2 separate regions of the Homo sapiens genome follow, and region 1 is linked to region 2. Evidence: promoter capture Hi-C in 16 types of primary human blood cells and fetal thymus (Javierre and others, 2016). All regions are on one chromosome and are shown on one strand. The core of a region is centred on a gene start or on the middle of the fragment in contact, and the rest is flanking DNA. Distances in the headings are between cores, read along the strand shown.

Evidence for each region. The method cuts DNA at HindIII sites, captures the fragments that hold promoters and counts their contacts. A CHiCAGO score of 5 or more calls a contact.
Region 1: a fragment that was not itself captured here is called in contact with the fragment with the promoter of THOC1 in region 2 in 1 of 17 cell types (activated CD4 T cells); the score reaches 10.3 in activated CD4 T cells.

Annotation. Positions count from the first base shown.
Region 1 is chr18:80,035,886-80,038,678 of GRCh38, reverse strand. It overlaps RBFA (ribosome binding factor A), which reads right to left. Exons shown (of 7, transcript NM_024805.3): 2 at 1,969-2,011; 3 at 1,173-1,349; 4 at 62-174. Among named protein-coding and RNA genes, the nearest start is that of RBFA, 2.8 kb to the right of the region's middle. The HindIII fragment of the contact is 4,600 bases long and covers 1-2,793 here.
Region 2 is chr18:266,669-269,368 of GRCh38, reverse strand. THOC1 (THO complex subunit 1) reads left to right here and starts at 1,322. Exons shown (of 21, transcript NM_005131.3): 1 at 1,322-1,403. The coding sequence starts at 1,350. RefSeq lists a silencer at 414-593 and an enhancer at 984-1,453. The HindIII fragment of the contact is 5,170 bases long and covers 1-2,700 here.

The DNA.
Region 1 (2,793 bases), core at 134-2,633, about 80 Mb before region 2:
CAGCTGAGAAATTTAGGGTATGAGCAAAAAGCAAGTACATTCAGAAAGCAAAGGTCATCACCTCATGTGCGCGGCACTTCTCTGCAGGACAGCCTCCATGTGTGCGTTCTGCTCAGCAGAGAGCGTTGTCTTCCAGTACGCTCGGCAGGCTGAGAAGTCTGGAGTCAGGGAAACCTGAGACCCCGCCCCTCCACAGGTCACTTTTTAGCTTACATGGGTTTTCAAGACAAACAACATCCAGGAGATGAAAACGACAGCTGCAGACGCCCCTCCCACCCAAGCCAGGGCTCTGGCATGCTGCTGGAGGCCACCTCCTGCTGCCGCACCATGTCCCCAGGTGAAGTAGGGCCCCAGAAACCAAAACCTCCCTCCTCTCTTCACCAGGACCCGCAAACCAAACCACCTGGTTTGCAGAACCAAACCGGAACCCTGACCCCACGCTTGCCTCACAGCCACTTGCCCTGAGACACTAATCAAAAATGCTCGATGCTGCCTTTTCTCCTTACAACTCACTGAGTGGGTCAGAGGAAGTCATCTCCTGTACCTCTGTACTGAGGTACATGCAGATGCATCCTCTTCCCACGGCAGGCTTAGACCTTCTACTATCTGACAATGTGCCAGGTGCTGTTTGGTCACAGGACTCCCGCCTTGCAGTGAGACATCTGCCTCTGCACAGCACAGACACTCACCATCTGTCTCCAGGGCTCCAATGACCAGACTGAGCATCATTTCTATTTCTGCAACCCAGAACTAAGACTTCATAAGTGCTAAAGTGGCTTTTTTTTTTTTTGAGATGGAGTCTCGCTCTGTCACCCAGGGTGGAGTGCAGAGGCGCGGCCTCAGCTCACTGCAACCTCCGCCTCCTGGGTTCAAGCGATTCTCCTGCCTCAGCCGCCCGAGTAGCTGGGACTACAGGCGCCCGCCACCATGCCCGGCTAAGTTTTTGTATTTTTAGTGGAGATGGGATTTCACTGTGTTAGCCAGGATCGTCTCAATCTCCTGGCCTCGTGATCCGCCCGCCTCAGCCTCCCAAAGTGCTAGGATTACAGGCGTGAGCCACCGCGCCCAGTCTAAAGCGTCTTTTTTTAATTGTCAGGCAAGACTGGGCCAGGTAAAGTAAGTGCCAGGCCTGCTGTCTCAACCCATTTCTTCTCTTTGGCCACACAGCCTACCTTGGAGAGCTCCACGTTAAGGTCATACAGCTCCTGACTCACTTCAGGGGTACACAGCAGGTCTGTCAGTGCCTTATAGAGGAGGCCGTTCAGGGCCCTCAGGCGCGCATGGTCTTCCTTCCTGGTTTTCTTTGAGGTGCTCCTCATGAGGAATTCCAACTTGGATGGTTTGTAAGTCTCCATCAGGAAGAAGAGCACACCCCAAGGGCAGCGTTACAACTCCAAACTCACCAAGTCACACAGCAGGGGCTGGGGGAGGGCTGGATGGGCAACCAGATCAACAGCAGCTATCACTCTCAGCTGCCTCAGCTTTCATTAAGATAAAGTTTTATAAACCGGGATCCTTTTAAATTTTACCTGGTAACCCTCCAAGATTAAAAGTACTGCCAGTAAATATTTTCTCAAAAAAAGTTTTTGTTGAGATATAATTCACATACCATAAAGTTCACCGTGCTAAAGGGAATAATTCAGTAATTTTTTGGAAACGTGATGTATTTATTTTTCAGAATGGGAGCCATATATTGTATAAACTTTTACAGTACACACACACTAAAAACTGAATGGATATTACCATATTATAATTTGATAAAAGATATGACTTTCCAGAAAACATTAATGTCAGTACATTTTTTTTTGAAAAGATCAAAACTCCATGTTGCCAATGGCATCCAGTCGCATCCACATAGACACTATCCCCTCCAATACAGAAATGGAAAGACCTCCAGGTAAGAGTTTTGCCAACTTTTAAACCCTCACTCCCATCAAGATTATAAAGTGGCTCATGGCTTATACTCACCGAGTGAGAACCCAAGGAAGGACTTTCATACCAAACCTTTTTTCTTTGGGGAGAAAATAAGCATTATGTTAGTGATGGCAAAGTCAAAAAGTTACATAAGCTAATTTAAGAGGTTATGATACCATAACTGTTTATAGGGGGCTAAACTTAGATGTTACATTACTGGACATCTTAAAAAATTTCAGAATTTAATTGATAACAACATGGGTTGTGGGGAAGAGGCTGAAGATGGTTTTAATTCAACCTCATAATTTTTACCTAAATTCTACTTCTAGTCCCAAGGTTAGAGAGAGGATCTTAAAAAGACACCTACCAAACTGCACATAAACACTATACGCTAATTGATAAAGATGTTTCCCATGGAAGTTCAAGTAAAGGATTCAGATACTGTTATAGGCATAGACTGAGACTGAACAATTAAGCAAATGGATGGTGGGAGCCACGCTCACCATTGGAGTGCGACTTACAGATCAGCAAGGAGAGGAGGCTAGAATGATCCACACAGTACGTCTGGAGTTGGAGACAGATGGCTATACACGGAAATGTTTATAGGTGCATATTTACACAAGGGTTAGTAGAAACACATATATCCTTTCGTCAGATGAGATGGCCCAAAAGACAGACACCCCAGAAGCAATGAACACACCCAGCACCCATGGTTTCTAATCTCTCTCTCCAATAAAAGGAACGAGGGCTTCTTGGAGAAATGGCTGATTTTAGGGCTGTGGTACGAAACACACAAGATGAGCCTGGAGTATCTTGTAGTGCCAGAAAGTAGGAAAGTGTTTAACACACACAGAACCCAGCAAAACCCCACAATGACAG
Region 2 (2,700 bases), core at 73-2,572:
CTGGAGTGCAATGGCACGATCTCCGCTCACTGCAACCTCCGCCTGCCGGGTTCAAACCATTCTCCTGCCTCGGCCTCCTGAGTAGCTGGGATTACAGGTGCGTGCCACCACGCCCGGCTAATTTTTGTATTTTTAGTAGAGACAGCGTTTCACCATGTTTGCCATACCTCAGGTGATCCACTCCTGACCTCAGGTGACCCACCTGCTTCGGCGTCCCAAAGTGCTGGGATTACAGGCGTAAGCCACCGCGCCTGGCCTCTATTTTAACTTTATGGCCAGTCAGCTATCTCCTCTAAATCACAAAAGGGAGAGGGTATAACCAGGTCCGTCTGACCTCCCATCCCGTTATGACTGGGAACTCAGTTGTTAAGATTTTGCTGGTGTCCCCTTGGCCTCACGGGGGTCTGTTCAGTTGTTGGGGGGCTTAGGATTTTAAATTTACAGACTTCGAAGAAGGGAACAAGATACACGTGTGAGGGAATAAGAGGAAGTTACCCGAGTCTGAGTCAGTGCTTCCTTCTCCACCGTGTAACTCCAACTTAGAGTTACTGCCACTCGGCTTCTATCGGCCACGTCTCTCCTGGGAAGGCAGGCAAGGGACGAAATGGAGGGAGACAAGGTTTTCGCTAGGGAAGCCTCGGCCCAGGACGCAGCGCCACCCGTTTTCCAATCAGCGCCGGGCACTGCATTCCTCCTAGGTCTCTTTCTTTCAGTAGAGACCTTTTAATAATAAATACTACTTACATTGCTTTACAGTTCACACTTGCGGTCATTATTTCAGTGGAGCTTTTCAACAGCTCTGTGAGACAGGTATTATTTCTATTTCGGAGCAGAGAGAACAGCGCCCTTGAGCCACAGGGCTCATACATCCGGAGCCTATCACCACTCCGCATCTTAAGCTCCCGGGATGACCGCGGACTGGCGGCCCAGGACCACTGCTCCAGCTGTTTCCCCAGGTAATCCACCTGCCTTGGGTTACCTTTTAGCGCGGCCCAGTTAGCCGCAACCAGCCACCATTTACCCGCTTTCCCCAAACCAGGAAAACCACAGAAACGCATGTGCGCGGCCAGTCTCTTCCACGCCCGGGAACGCAGAGCTTACAGACCAAGGCCGCCCAAGTCCCCTCACCCCAAAGGCTACCCAAGAACCCCGAGTAGGCTGTTTGGCTGACTCAGGCGCCCAACGCCCACCCGAACTGAGTCGCTAGGGAAACTCCCAACTGCCAGCTCGCCCGACCGGTGTTCACAGGCCACTCTAGCCGGGCTCAGAGAGACCGCAGTCTCGTTGCTCCTGGCTTGACGTCATCGGCAGGCGCCGCAGCGCAGTGGCGGGCACGCGCAGCCGAGAAGATGTCTCCGACGCCGCCGCTCTTCAGTTTGCCCGAAGCGCGGACGCGGTTTACGGTGAGCTGTAGAGGGGAGGGTGCAGGCCTGACCCGGCGCTATGCTTTGTCCTCTTCTCCCTGAAATTACTCGAATTTTGCCCTGGGGTAAAGTGAGACAGAGGTGTGTCCGCCTCAGCGTCCGCTCCGGGCCCCGTCGGAGGTTGAGGGGTAGGGAAAGACGCACTACCCGCCTCTTCTTTGTGGGCTGGGCCGTCCGCCTCCGCCCACCCTCCAGCGGGTCCCCGGACTGCGTGCTGGGCGCCTCGGCTCCCCGCTTGGAGTGCCCACCTGCAGACTACTGCTGGTTGGGTCCATCCTCTCAGCTCGTTTAGTGGGGCAGGTGTCTCGAGAAGGGGAAGGGGAGCTGCTGAAGGGGGAGGGTGGGAGTGGTTTCAGTCCAAAGACCTGGCTCCCGCCCTAGCCTTCTGAGCTACCAAGTGCTTGTTCCCGCCGTCTCTTCACCACCCCTTAACCCACCGTGTCTAACTCCTAAGCGATCGATGAGATCCTAAGCGGGAAAAGGCAGATAGATCACCTTGGGAAGGGTAACCAGATGCTATTTTATTCTTGCTCAATGTGGAAGGGTGGTTTTGAGCATTTGGGAAACACTTGACAGATCACTTTCTCATTTAACTATTAGAGTAACACTGTGAAGTAGGCTAAGTTGGTTATTCCTGGTACATGAGGTAGAAGCTGACACCCCCCAAAAAGTTGTGACTTCAGTGGTTTTTCTGACTTTAGACACTCTGTTCTTTTTATGTTGCTCGTCACAGCAACGTAAGTATGAAGAACACTTTTAAGTTGCCTGACTCTATTCGTCTCTAGCATTTGCACCAACATTTCTCAGATATTCGGCTGTGTTTTGGTAGTTATAGGGATGCCAGGATGAAAATTGTGTGAAAGAAAAATTCATCCTTTGTAGTAAGTAGTTTTCTTGTTTGCAGGGTTATATATATATATATATACATATATATACGTATACGTATAATATATATATACACACACACACAGTGTGAGGTTTTTTTTAAATGGATTATATTTTGTGTATGTCATCATAATCATTTTCTTTGTGTGCGTTTTGCTGCAATCTCTGGTGCTTTGAAAGCCTGCTAAGAGTAACTGTTAGGACTATCCAAGATCATATTGGCGGCCGGGCGCAGTGGCTCACGCCTGTAAATGCAGTACTTCGGGAGGCCGAGGCGGGCGGATCACCTGAGGTCAAGAGTTCAAGGCCAGCCTGGCCAACATGGCAAAGCCCCGTCTCTACTAAAAATACGAAAATTAGCCAGGCGTGGTGGTGGGCGCTGTAATCCCAT